2 separate regions of the Homo sapiens genome follow, and region 1 is linked to region 2. The links are contacts of gene promoters, found by promoter capture Hi-C in blood cells and fetal thymus (Javierre and others, 2016). All regions are on one chromosome and are shown on one strand. The core of a region is centred on a gene start or on the middle of the fragment in contact, and the rest is flanking DNA. Distances in the headings are between cores, read along the strand shown.

Region 1 (7,153 bases), core at 3,393-5,892, 110 kb after region 2:
CTGCCTATGCCCGGGCGGGCACTGCCCCAGCCTGCGCCCAGCACTGCGCGCCGGTGACGCACGGTGGTGGCCATCCCACCTGCAGAGCACGTCCTCCCGTCCTTAGTAGATGCCCACGCATGCACCATCCCCCCAAGGATGCATGATTTTCCTCCACCCATGCTCGGTTCCCCCCCCTCCCGACTGGTGCTTGACTTCCTCCCGCCCATGCACGATCCCCCCGCCCCACGCATGCAAGATCCCCTCGCAGAAGCAGGGGAGATGTATCCGCCCTTCCTTCCATCACAAGCTTTGCAAAGTGCTGCGATGCCAAGATGTGCTGAGCGCAAGTCTGGGGGCGCCCGGGCTCTCCCCCGACCCCCGGCCGTCCAGGGGGACCCTGCGACTTGGAGGCCGCTCGCAGAAGGGGTGGCGGGGGGAGGGGGACAGGGCTCCGCATCCACGCGGCCCTGTAGGACGGCGACTCCGCTTCGGGGTTTAGGACGGGGCGGGACGCGGCCCTTCGAGGCCACCTCCGTCGCAGGGGGAACCCAGAGCCCGCCAGCCGCGGCGGAGCAAGATGGCCCCATTTTTCGCGCCCTTCTGGTTTGAACGCGTAACTCCTTCAGTGCCGGGAGGAGCGTCTCCGCCCACTTCCGCCGGGCTCCCTGCGGAAGCTTTTTCCCGGGCAGAGTCCCTGGGGTGGAAGAGGGGGTACCCTGGGAACGCCGCCTTGGGACTTTTCCCTGAGTTCGCGGGCGTCCCCGCAGGTCCCGCTGCTTCCGAGGCGCGCCGAGCAGGACGCACACGGAGGACGCGCAAGCGCCCTGGCTCCGCGCCCCGGACTGGAAGGGCTGAGACAGGACCTGCGGGGGTCGGCACCCACCCCAGGTGTCCTCCCTTGCCCTCCAGCTGGGCACGGACTGGGTGTCAGCATTCCCCAGCCCTGCAGCACCGAAGGCTTTTCGTGCAAGGGAGGCTGCCGCAGGACGCTCGGGGTGGTGACAGCCGGACCCAGCCTGGGCGCTAAGGGCTGCCTGAGCCCGGACCCCGCGGTCTAGAGCTGCAGCGTCTGCAGCTGTACCTCAGGGCAGTTTTCCCAGTTTCCCTAAAATCCGCGGCTTGTGTTCATTCATCCACTTAGAACTTTACTATTGGAAAACCTAAGTAACAGTTGTGTGAAACGATGCCTGTGTGCGGTGCCTCTACCAGCGCACCGCCTCCAAGATCAGCCTCAGACAACCCTGAGGAGGCCGTGCTAGGAGTATTGGGGAGGCCCAGAGTTCCAGGCCAGGGAGTTCCCCATGTGAAAGTAGGAGAAAAGGGACCCCACAGAGAGAGCTGTGACCCCACAGGGACTAACGGTTTCGTAGTGCGGAGTTACTGACTGCGGAGTGCACATTCTCTCTCCACTGCGTAACCACCATCAAAAACAAACAAGCAAACAAACCAGAGAGGAGGTTTCATCGTTCTCGAGGATGCACAAGATGCTAGGCGCTTCACACATGTCGTATATTGCCCAACAGCTCTGGAAAGCCCTGACAATGTCATTTAGTGAATGCCTGTCCCTGTTGCCAGAGGCTCTGCTGGCTCCCAGCCTGCTCCTAGGAGACTCTTGCTGGTGATGGGGACACTGTGTTGGTTGGTTACTGTTTTGTTTTGTTTTGAGACAAGAGTCTTGCTCTGTGGCCCAGGCTGGAATGCAGTGGCCCAATCTCGACTCACTGCAAACTCCGCCTCCTGAGTTGAAGCCATTCTGGTGCCTCATCCATCCCGAGTAGCTGGTATTACAGGCACGCAGCCAGCAAACTTGCTCATTTTTGTATTTTTAGTAGAGAGGCCCAGACTGGTCTTGAACTCCTGACGTCGAGCAATCTGCCCACCTCGGCCTCCCAAAGTGCTTTGGTTTTGTTTTTAATGAGATAATTAGGTGTGGCCACAAGATGAGACACAGGAGAGACTCTGGAAAGCAAAGTTTGCTGTACTCACAGGTCCTAGGACAGGAGACATGGCACACCATGCCGGGCCACAGGGGAATGTCACCAGGGTGGTCAGGAGGCAGGAGACAGGAACCAGGGGAAGTTGAGGCCAGACGCTTTGCTAGGGCAGAGCACCAGCTTCAGATTAGCCCTTTGAATAATTTCTGTGGCTTTGGGGTATAAGGGTGGTCCCTAGTTTCCTGGCACTGGGCCCTGGGATGATTAAGGCAAAAGAAGATTGCCTTCTGCGGGGGTATGGGCCAGGTAGGGGAGGTCTGGCTCTGGCTAGATTTAGTTCGCATGTCAAAGGCAAGCTCCTGGCTGGGCCCTTTGCTAGCTGAAATAATTGCTAGCCTTGGGAGGGACAGTCACTCCCCAGCCAGAAAGATTTTAAGAGGTCAGAACATCATAACATCCAGAAAATGTTCAGTTGTTTAAAATGCAGGTACCCAGTCTCACTCCAGCCTTCCAACAACCTGCTTGCCTTTCCCCTTCTCACCCAGGCCTTTACACCGTGGCTTACTACTTCACCACAGGACGGCTTCTGTGGGGGTGGCTGGCCCTTGCTGTCCTCCTGCCCGGGTTCTTGGTCCAGGCCCTGAGCTACCTGTGGTTCCGAGCAGACGGGCATCCAGGGCATTGCTCCTTGATGATGCTGCACCTCCTACAGCTTGGTGTTTGGAAGCGGTAAGAACAGCTGCCTCTTTCACCTCTGGAGCACAATTGCACAAGTGCAGTGAGAGGAATCTTCTCTCCATGTGGATTCTGTCCTCAAGCTCATAAAAGTTCAGCATTGGGAAGAGGTTCAAAGCGGCCACAGCAAACCCCTGCTCTGATATTGGCATGCCCGGGTCCAGCCTGCACTTTTTTGAGCATCTCCAACCTCAGGGGCTCTTTCTCTGTGAAGCTGTGACCTTACGAAAGGCTTTTTCTTGTCTTCAGATGAAGCCCTGTCTTGCTGTTTTGATTTGTTGGTTGAGCCGTTAGTTCCATATAAAGCAACTTACTTAAGGCAGTTCCATCTGCACACCTGTCACCTTAGAACAGGAAGGTGGCATAGTTTAGTGAACCACAGACTAGACAATGAAGCCAGCCTGTTGACATTTGCTTCAAGACTTCGTCTCAGGAAAAAGTCATTTGGATGCCAGGGCTAGTTTTTTCTCTAAAGAAGTAGCCAGGGATAGTTCTGGGGCCTGGTGGGCTTATCCGTGATCCATAGACCATCACGACAGGTGAGGGCTGATTTTTTTCTACTTTGAGAACCTGGATTCAAGGAGCTATGAGAAGAGATGTGTCAGTGAGTTTATATCAAGGGCACATTTCAGCTGGCAGCTGCTGCCTCATAATTCCATTGGGTTGTTAGGTTTGTTTTTTTTTTTTTTTTTTTTTGAGATGGAGTCTCACTCTGTCACCCAGGCTGGAGTGCAGTGGTGTGATCTTGGCTCACTGCAACCTCCGCCTCCTGGGTTCAAGCGATTCTCCTGCTTCAGCCTGTTGAGTAGGCGGGACTACAGGCACGTGCCACCATGCCCGGCTAATTTTTTGTATTTTTAGTCGAAACAGGGTTTCACTGGGTTAGCCAGCATCGTCTCGGTCTCCTGACCTCGTGATCCGCCCACCTTGGCCTCCCAAAGTGCTGGGATTACAGGCGTGAGCCACTGCACCTGGCCACAGGATTTTTTTTAAGGGAGAAAAATTCAGGGATCAGAGCGGTGAAGCCCTGCAGCTCAAGTGTTCATTAAATCATAGGCACTGAGGGTTGGAAAGGTGTTCAAGGGGTCGTGGCCAATGCTGCTGTGTGTCCTAGGGGTTTATGCCTGCAAGCTATTCCCAAGACTTTCTCCGGAGGCACTGAAATGAGTGATGAGCCCCACATAGAGCATCACTGTGAGCAGGGAATGGTGCCGTCCCGCCCAGAGTAGAATCTCAGCTAGGAGGTAGAGGGTGCTTCTGAGAAAGACTTCAAGCACCCACTCTCAGTTTCACTGGACCCTCAGAGTTGGACCCTAAACCTCTAACAGCACCGAAAGCATATTTGCAGCCACAGGCATTTTGCCAAAAGCTCGGCCTTGGTGTTCAAGCAGTGCCGTTCCCCTGAAAAGACAGGGCCCTTCCTTCCATGGCGGAGAAGGCAGAGAAGGATCTTTCGGAGGGCCTCATAGGGTCAGAGCCTCTCCTGTGCCCTAGCTGCCATTGTCGTCTCCTTCCCTGATCGGCCCAGCCCAGTAATCAATCCTTAAGGGCTCTGGGTCTTACTTGGCTTTGACCATCACAGTCGTAAGGCATGAGCCCTCGAGGACAGAGGCCTGTTGAGTGAGTCAGCTACCATGAGCCCATGTTTGGCAGCCCAAAGAGAGAGGTAAGCCCAGGTGGTCACTTAGAGAAGCTTCCTGGGTAATGAACGGTTAGACAAATCTGCCTTCTGAGGCTGTGTGGACCCTCAGGCCTCATGGAATCCACTGCCTTCCTCAGAGATGAGGGCTGCCAGGGGACCACGGTGTGTCCAAATTCATGCTGCTGGTATTTCACAGTGGACCCCACACTGTCTTTCCCATGCACTCTTAATTTTCTTAAGTGATGCCATGATTTTCTGGTGTATATAAAAAAACGAACTTGAATAATCTGGTATATACTAGTGAAATCATATAGATAAGTGAAGAGATACATGAAAATTATAAATTAGGAAAAACCATTAGTCATATATATTTATTCTTGTTTTGAAAAAGAAGTTAAGATGACTTTAAAAATACACATCCTTAAAAGAACAAAAAAGAAAAGAAAAGAAATGAGAAAGGCCAGGTATCGAGATGAAATGTTAGAAAACAAGATAGAGCCAGAATGCACAGCTATCGGAAGCGGGTCACAATTTGGCCCTAAGGTTTATAACAGCCAGTGCAAGCATAAAGGCCGCAAGATTTGCAGTGTTTCTCAGGTTAAACATGAACCAAAAAACAGAAATTTACTTCCATAGAGGAAAGCTTTGAAAGTTAAAATAGACAGCAGTGGATCCATTCCTCATCCTGAAACTAGCACATAGGGTTCAAAGACAACACTGAGTGAAGCAGTATTTTTAGTGAGGCAATCCAGCTTTCCAAATTGCAATTCTAGAAAAGGACCTGTAGGGGGAGCCAAAACAATTGCGTTTGGCACAATTTTGAATTGCCTAAGAATAGGTCACTTTGAGTGTCCTCATCACAAAATACAAAAGAATCTGCTAACTGAGAATCCAGTAAAACACAAAGTTGCTTATAAAAATGCAAGGATTGAGGCCTGGCGCGGTGGCTCACGCCTGTAATCCCAGCACTTTGAGAGGCCGAGGCAGGCGGATCACGAGGTCAGGAGATCCAGACCATCCTGGCTAACACGGTGAAACCCCGTCTCTACTAAAAATACAAAAAATTAGCCGGGCGTGGTGGCGGGCGCCTGTAGTCCCAGCTACTTGGGAGGCTGAGGCAGGAGAATGGCATGAACCCGTTAGGCGGAACTTGCAGTGAGCCGAGATTGCATCACTGGACTCCAGCTTGGGTGACAGAGCGAGACTCCGTCTCAAAAAAAAAAAAAAAAAAAAAAAAAAAAAGCAAGAATTTGGCCTGGCGTGACGGCTCACACCTGTAATCTCAGTGCTTTAGGAGGTGGAGGCAGGCTGATCTCTTGAGGCCAGGAGTTCTAAACCAGCCTGGCCAACACTGTCGAAACCCCATCTCCACTAAAAATAGACAAATTAGCCAGGCGTGGTCACGCACACCTGTAATGCCACCTACTCAGGAGACTGAAGCATGAGAATCGCTTGAACCTGGGAAGTAGAGGTTACAGTGAGCTGAGATCACGCCACTGCACTCCAACCTAGGCAACAGAATGAGACTCAATCTCAAATAAATAAATAAATATAAAAAGGCAAGGATTTAAGCCATAAGTGTATTCTTTTTAACGTTCCCAATAATACATACTATGTTCATTTTAAGTCTGACTCTGTTCAAGAGAACCTGACATTGGTGACCACTTATTTAAACAAAGACCATTACTTTCTTCTACTTAGGTTTTTTACTTACACTTTAATACTGTATGTTACCAACATCTTTTTCATCTTTCTTTTTAAGCCCACAAATCCACTTGTAAATGCAGCATGAGATGACAGAAGAAGGCCTATCTCATCCTTAGCATGCACCTTGGTTTAGCAATTTTTCTTTAGTGAAAGTTCAAGGTTGTCAAAAGGAAAGTTAAGGTAAACTCTAAAGGTATGTAAGACAGGTTCAGCATAAATGGGTGGAGATTTAATATTTAAAAGTATATAAAATATAGCCCTAGCCCTGGAGGGCCCAGTCCTGCCTCAGGATCCCTCGAGTGAGGCTTGAAGGCTGTTGCGATTTCCATCAATGTAGGGAGGGAACAGGCGTTTCCGACACAGCAAGCTGCAGCCGCTGGTGCAAAGACATAGATGCGTGCCAGAAGTGGTGTATATGGGAAATTAGGATGAGGTTCTTGAGACTAAAGGGTAAGAATTTCCTAGATGGCAGGAATGTGGCAGGAGATAAATGGGCTGGACCATGAAGAAACTTTTCTACTGGATTAAGGAGTTTGGATTTTATCCTCAGGCATTGGAGACCTGTTGGAAGGGTTTGAGCAAAGGAATAATATGGGCAAATGAGCCTGTAGACAGATGGCACCAGGGACAATAAAATGCAACAGAGTTGGGAGGGACGGGGTCCATGCAGGCAGCCAGAAATCCAGGCAAGTGCTGATAAGGACCTGGAATGATGCAGCGACTGTGAGGACAGATGTCGGACACCATCTCATAGGACCTAGTGACCAAATCCCCACGCTCTCCATCCCGCCTCAGCTTCCTCCCCGGCTTCCCTAGTGGCTGTCCAGGGGTCTCAGCCTGAATTTCTCCCTCTGCAATGGGTTCGAGACAGCTCGTTTCAGAAAACCGGGCTAGTCACCTTCCCACTGGTCCTCTGTTTCTTACAAGAGTAGCCCCACAACTCAGCCTCTCCTGGCCCCCGCCTTACCAAGCACCAGATATTCGCTATTCCCAGACATGGACCTTCATTTCAGTGCCTTGTACCCTGTGCCACTGACCCCAGACACTCCTTTAGGCTCTTCCTACCATCTACCTGTCCAGAGTTTGCCTGTCCTCCTCTTCCAGGAAGCATTCCCTGACCACCTTATTCTCTCTGCCTGTGACTCTGATTCCA
Region 2 (6,246 bases), core at 3,747-6,246:
CTGTGTCCCCAGACTCCAGCCATGCCCCATGTCTGACTCCTCCTGACAGAGGCTCAGCCATTCATGTCTCCCTGGGAAAATGGGAACAGCACTTGTAGGACAAGGCAAACCTGGCACTTAAGTCCTTTCAAGTGACAGGAAGCTGAGGCCATGGTTTCCCTGTTATTCAGCTCCTGCCTACAAGCAGAGAGAAATAGCAGCAGCGACCCTATTGCCCGAACAATTGGTGACCTGATGAGGCCATGGGAAGAGTTGGACATGGGGAGTCCACATACCTCAGGGAAGGCAGCACTGCCCTGCAGGCCGGGAGCCCACTGGCCGGCAACCACCTCCCACATTTATCACAGCAGGGCCTGCATAGGAGGGGAGGGTATGCTGAGCCCAGCCATACAGCTGGTGGTGCCGGTTGCAGGGGAGGTTGCTGTGGCCATAACCCCCACTCGGGGACAGTTTTTACAGATTCCTGGGCTGTGCCCAACATATTGTGAGTGCCCTGGATCCAATGCCTCTGGAATGGCCTCTGTGGCGTGGACCTGTTTGGGTCAAATTAGGGGACACTCCAGTCCTCCTATAGGTGATTCATGCCTCATGCATTCAGAACAAACATGCCCAGGCTACTTTCCACCACTCGAAGGGTGAGGCATCCACAGTGAGACGACTGCCATCTTTGGCCTCCAGACTGAGCCTGCTGACAGCCCCTGATGTCCTGTCCCCAGGAGGTTAGCGGTCAGATGCACCTCCCAGGGCTTGGGTGAGATCCTCTTATTTTTACAGACTCCAGAATCTCAAGTTCTGTATTCCTCAGGTGCTGACAGAGTGGAGTCCTACAGCCCCAGATCATGAGAGCTACAGCCACATTAGAGGGCAACCCACACCACAGCTGTCTCCCACCATAGCTTCAGGCAAGCAAAACTGTGGCCAGCAATCCCTTGTTCCTGGGCCATCACCCTTTCAGCTGGTGGCAAATGGACTTCACTGGGCCTCTCCCATCACAGCCACCACCTTCTGCTGTGCAGGAGCAGACACACATCCACCGCACTTCCATTGACTCTTCCAACCCAAGGCTCTTGGTAGAGAAAGGTGCTCTCTTTCTGTGACATTTGCTCTATTACCTCTTGTGAACCACCAGATATCACTGATGCAGATCAGGGCTCCCACTTCAGGGTGGTGCTGGGCAACTCAGCATGGGGGTTAGGGGACCCTCACTTAGCCACTGGCCTCCTCAAGCAACACAGTGGCCTCCTAAAGTCATGCTTATTAAAGTTGTGGCATGAGCACAGACTAAGTCAAATTAGGAAAGGCTCCAGTCCCCCTACAAGTGGTTCATCAAGGGAACCAAGCTCCTTTGAGAGCCTTAACTATCTTAATTCTCAACACCATGGCCACCAGCTCTTCTACAATTGGACCAGACCAACCATGGCACCCACCCTGGTGATCACAGAAGAGTTGAGCTCTTTTTCCCTTATGGATACCATCACCCACATTTTCTGCAATAATGAGACCCCCTCATACCATCACAAGATGTCCACTGTCTCAGCATCAAACATTTACTAAAGACTCGATCGAGGATGGACAGTGATAGGGTTTGGCTGTGTTCCCACCCAAATGTCATCTTGAATTCCTATGTGTTGGAGGGACCTGGTGGGAGGTAATTGAATCATGGAGGCAGGTCTTTCCCATGCTGTTCTCATGGTAGTGAATAAGTTTCACAAGATCTGATGGTTTTATATAGGGAGTTTCCCTGCAGAAGCTCTCTCTTTGCCTGCTGCCACCCACGTAAGACTTGACTTGCTCCTTTTGTCTTCTACCATGATTGTGAGGCCTCCCCAGCCATGTGGAACTGTGAGTCCATGAAATCTCTTTCCTGCATAAATCACCCAGTCTCGGGTAGGTCTTTATGAGCAGCATGAAAATGGACTAATACAGATAGTGAGCTGTGATCCTCTGGGGACTGATGGTCCAGGCAGCTGCCACAGAGCAGCCCTAAGATGCTTCTGCTACACCAGACCTCACCTCTTGACATACAGCCTCCAGCAGAAGCTCCAGTTCTTCCTGCTTTGAAAGGTAGCTAATATCTCCCACTCACTCCTCCCTGAAGGAAGTGGGGATTGTTTCTCTGCAGCCCAAAGAGGGTACAGTCTGGGTCACTAAATGAGGAGAAAAAGCCATCAAACTAGAGGACGCCAACTACATCAGACAAAGACCACATGGAACTACCATCACCATGTCCTGTGTCGATTGCAGAAAAATGCTCTGAAGAAATGTTGGTGAAAGCCCACCCCATAATCAATATCGACGTAAAAGTACCTTGAGGAAATCCCTGAGTTATAAGCTGTCAGTGCTCTCTATCTTTGGCCTTGCTGGGTATCTTATGTATGTAAATGTTGTACGGCTGCTCTTAGGCCTGGGGCCTGGCATCCCAGAGAGCTGCTGGAACAGGACAGCCACTGTGAGAAATTGAACCCCAGGCTGGAAAACTGTGGCATGTTGAGGCAATGTGCTAGAGGGGCAAAACCCCAAATGCCACCTGACCTGGATCCAAGCCAGGAAACCCGATCCTTAGATATTGAATGGGACCCATGGCACTAAAGCTTAAACACCAGCAACCCCCACAATCAGAGGCAGGTGGCCCTCCCCATGACCAGGCATGAATACAAACCAGCTAATGATGCCTCAGCACAAACTCAGTCTGTGGCCGGAAAGGTTGGAGCCTCACATGCAGAGAAAGCATTCAAACACGTTCATGGGCTTAGGGATACTTCTGTGCTCCAAAGTATGTGAGTTGTGGATGGAAATGTCCTATCCCCCGACCAAGGAAAGCACCACTCAAGCTTTCACTAAACGCTTCCATGGAGTCCCACAGAGGCCAGAGGCCTGTGCAACACCAGCCCATACCCTCTCTCTTCTTGAGTGACCAGCTGGAAAGGCCACCCCTACCCGAAAGGCCATCACCTCAGAAGACAGTGCTCTGATCCAAGGGTTTGTCCTGGGAAACAGTGGCCTCACCAGAACCAGAGACACCAAGGAATCTCATCTTGACTGTGGGGTCATCCCCAAACCAGACTCACCTTACTCTCCTTCCTGCCGCAAGGTATGGATCTCACCACCCCCGGGACATGGAGTTGGCTCACGTCCAGTACCTGGACCCGTGCTTTCTTAGCTCATGCTTTCCTGAGGACCCTGCAGATGACCCCTTAGAATGGTATTTTGCTGGGATCCCCATTTGTCTTCAGTGTAACCCATTAGTTAAACCGCCTACTGCAAGGAAACCACAAGGCTTGGATCAGATCAGGAGGCTGCCCTACAAGTTATGCCAAAAAATATGGACTTGGAAGACCTGTCTGTTATAATATCACACCCAAATCTAACCAGCTCTGCCAATAACAGCTCTCTCCTATGTTACTAGGAAAATGCCTATGGATTGGAGTGTGTTCTGTGTGCAGGAGGCTGGTCCAGGTTTCACTTCTGCAGGACACTGGACATCCCCACAACCACCAGACCTTCCCCACGTGCACACACACCCCTTCTCATTTTGCCTCTACATCCATATCCACTGGGCCCTTCAGGCACCTACTAATGCCCTAGAACCTAAAACCATCATCTGGGGCCCAGTTCCCCAAATAGCCCTAATTTCTTCCTCTGCTGGAATGAGTCCAGTGCCCACTTCCTCCAAAGGTGAAATTGCTGGGCCTGCAACAGATCAGGAACTCACTGCTTCCTCATAGGGGCAGCCGACTTCACTGCTCTGGAACAGCGACCACCCCTAGCGAGGCTTGAGATGCCTCTTCCCTCCTTAAGACTGAGAGCGCCGCTGCCCCCAGTCCTCCATAGCCCAGTGCCTGCTGCCTTCACGCAGAGCTGCAGGGGAGGCCCTGAGCACCCAGCCTGCTGGACCAGCGCTGTGCACGGCCCTCCCATGGCGGCAGGGGCTGCCTGGACTGCATACTGGGTTCAGCAACCTCACTATAGGTATTCATTCCCTCAGGAACAACTGCATTCTTTTCTCATTTCCAGAAACCTCATCCCGTTTACCTCACTACAAGGAGGAGGATGGTGGAGAGTGGTACATTTTAAAATGTGCACTAGTCTCCCTGGGACTCCCCTTCAAATAACCCAGGAGGGACCACACAAGGGAAAGCTTATGCATCCCCCCCACCCAGTGACCATCTTCCTAACTCTGGGTGTAGGGAGACTCGTAAGCCTACGGGATTGGTTTGGGAACAGGGTATTTGAGCTCACAACACAAGGTGATGCAAGCTAACACCAATCTCGCTGCAGCTTTGGCCACCATCCTAAGGGACTTCTGACAGACATTAGGTGTCACGCAATCATTTGATGAGTCCTTGGCCTGGATGACCTAGACAGTCATTTAGGCTTGAACTATCTAAGGCCAAGCAAAAAGGTGACTGTCCCCTCTAGGGAACCACATGCTATATGCACATCCTTTACTCGGGAGCCTGCAACCTGCCCTATCCAGCAACACAAGCCCAGGCGGTATTCAGTCTCATCCAGGTATTCTCCAACCTTACTTGTCTGAATGGCTTGGATTTGTTTTTATGGTTAGACCCCAGGGCCTGGGGAGGTCAGTTCAGACCACATTCCAAATCCTCATCTGTGTGTGGGTGGCATTTTGATCCTAGTCTCCTCGCAAGGTGTATACAACAATATGCAGGCCAGGCTCTCCTGGTGGCTTTAAATATTCCCTCGGTCCAGGTAGTTCAGCCTCAGCCACCAGCATAGGTATCATGGGGTCAATTGTCTTAGGAGTCATGAGGAATCCATAGTTGATTGCTGCCTGGGCCTGGCCAGGGCTGACCAAAGTAGACGAGGGGTCGGTACCTCCGTGGACTCCTGCTTGAACTCCAGCTTTCTGCCAAATTTCTCAACTGCCCTTGTTAACAGTTATTTAAAGTACCCAATAGAAAGTAACCCTGAAAAATTAGGACACCTGATACCAAAAGACCCTTAAATAAGGAAGTCCTCTCCTCTGTGTGCATGGCTGCTCTTGCTACATAAGACCTGGAACACAGGACTGCTGTCTGCCCTCTCTGCTCGCCCTGCCTAGCTTGAGGATCTGTAAGTAACACAAAACTTAAACTTTCACATTGAGGTTTCAATATTGAAGCTGTGTCCCCAGTCTGACCTCTCACTGTGGGGCCACCCCAGAGGGACCCAGCGGGTGAAGCCCCTGCTGTGAACTTCTATCTGGGTGTCTGGCGGCTGCTGGGGGTAATGGCTACTAGCTAAGTCAATAGAGAAACTCAAAAAGTTTCCTTCCAAACACACGTGTCCTACTTGACATGTCCAATAAAGACGATCACAGCTTCTTAAAACATTATTTTATTGTGAGAGAAGCCTCTGCAGGTCCTAGGTCTGTTTTTCAATCAGGTTGTTTGTTTTTTGCTATTGAGTTGTTTGACTTCCTTATGTATTCAGATATTTACCCCTTCTACCACGTAGGCTTTGCAAACATTTTCTCTCATTTTCTGGGTTGCCGTTTCCCTCAGTTGATTGTTTCCTTTGCTATGAAGATGCTTTAGCGTTCAATGCAGCCCCGCTTGTCTATTTTCCCATTTGTTTATTGCCTGTGCCTTTGGTGTCATAGCCAAGAAATCATTACTCACGTCAATGTCCAAAGCTTTATCTTTGTATGTGCTTCTCGTAGTTGTATGGTTTCAGGTCTTTTCAAGTCTATGTTGAGTCTTCAATCCATGTTGAGCTGATTTTTTACATGCTGTGAGAGAAAGGACCACGTGTATGCACCTAGCAACTCATGAACCTTACACAACTCTTTATCTCTCTCACTGAGCTCATTTCACCTGTACCCTGATAAGGTCATTGTCCTCTTCACTCTGGCCCCTACAGGAGACTACTCACCCCATTACCTCAGTCGCCCCTTCATGAGGGTATAATGACCTAGAAGCCTGCAATGAGTTACTCTCTACTCCACCGGAATACAGGTCTGGCACCAGTGTTTAGACCTGAAGAGAATAGTAGGGCCCATTATCAGGAAATAAGAGGCATTTGCTCTCTTAAATTATTGAATGAAAGCACTGTTTCCATTCTTTTTAGAATATTAAAGATTTAACCAGGAAATATTAGGTATTTCCTGAAAACAGGAAAAAATGCCAGGGTCCTCATCATCACCATCAACTTCAACCTAGCACAGACACTAAACATAGAGCTTCCTGTGAAGAAAGCTGGGAGAGCAGAGGAGCATTCCAGGGATGTCAAGGCCAATAGGAG

The links. The method cuts DNA at HindIII sites, captures the fragments that hold promoters and counts their contacts. A CHiCAGO score of 5 or more calls a contact.
Region 1: a fragment that was not itself captured here is called in contact with the fragment with the promoter of DEFA4 in region 2 in 1 of 17 cell types (monocytes); the score reaches 6.5 in monocytes.

Annotation. Positions count from the first base shown.
Region 1 is chr8:6,828,209-6,835,361 of GRCh38, reverse strand. XKR5 (XK related 5) reads left to right here. Exons shown (of 7, transcript NM_207411.5): 2 at 2,462-2,645. Among named protein-coding and RNA genes, the nearest start is that of XKR5, 3.7 kb to the left of the region's middle. RefSeq lists an enhancer at 588-1,456. The HindIII fragment of the contact is 592 bases long and covers 4,347-4,938 here.
Region 2 is chr8:6,937,056-6,943,301 of GRCh38, reverse strand. DEFA4 (defensin alpha 4) reads left to right here and starts at 4,996. Exons shown (of 3, transcript NM_001925.3): 1 at 4,996-5,076. RefSeq lists a silencer at 5,191-5,260. The HindIII fragment of the contact is 1,500 bases long and covers 4,141-5,640 here.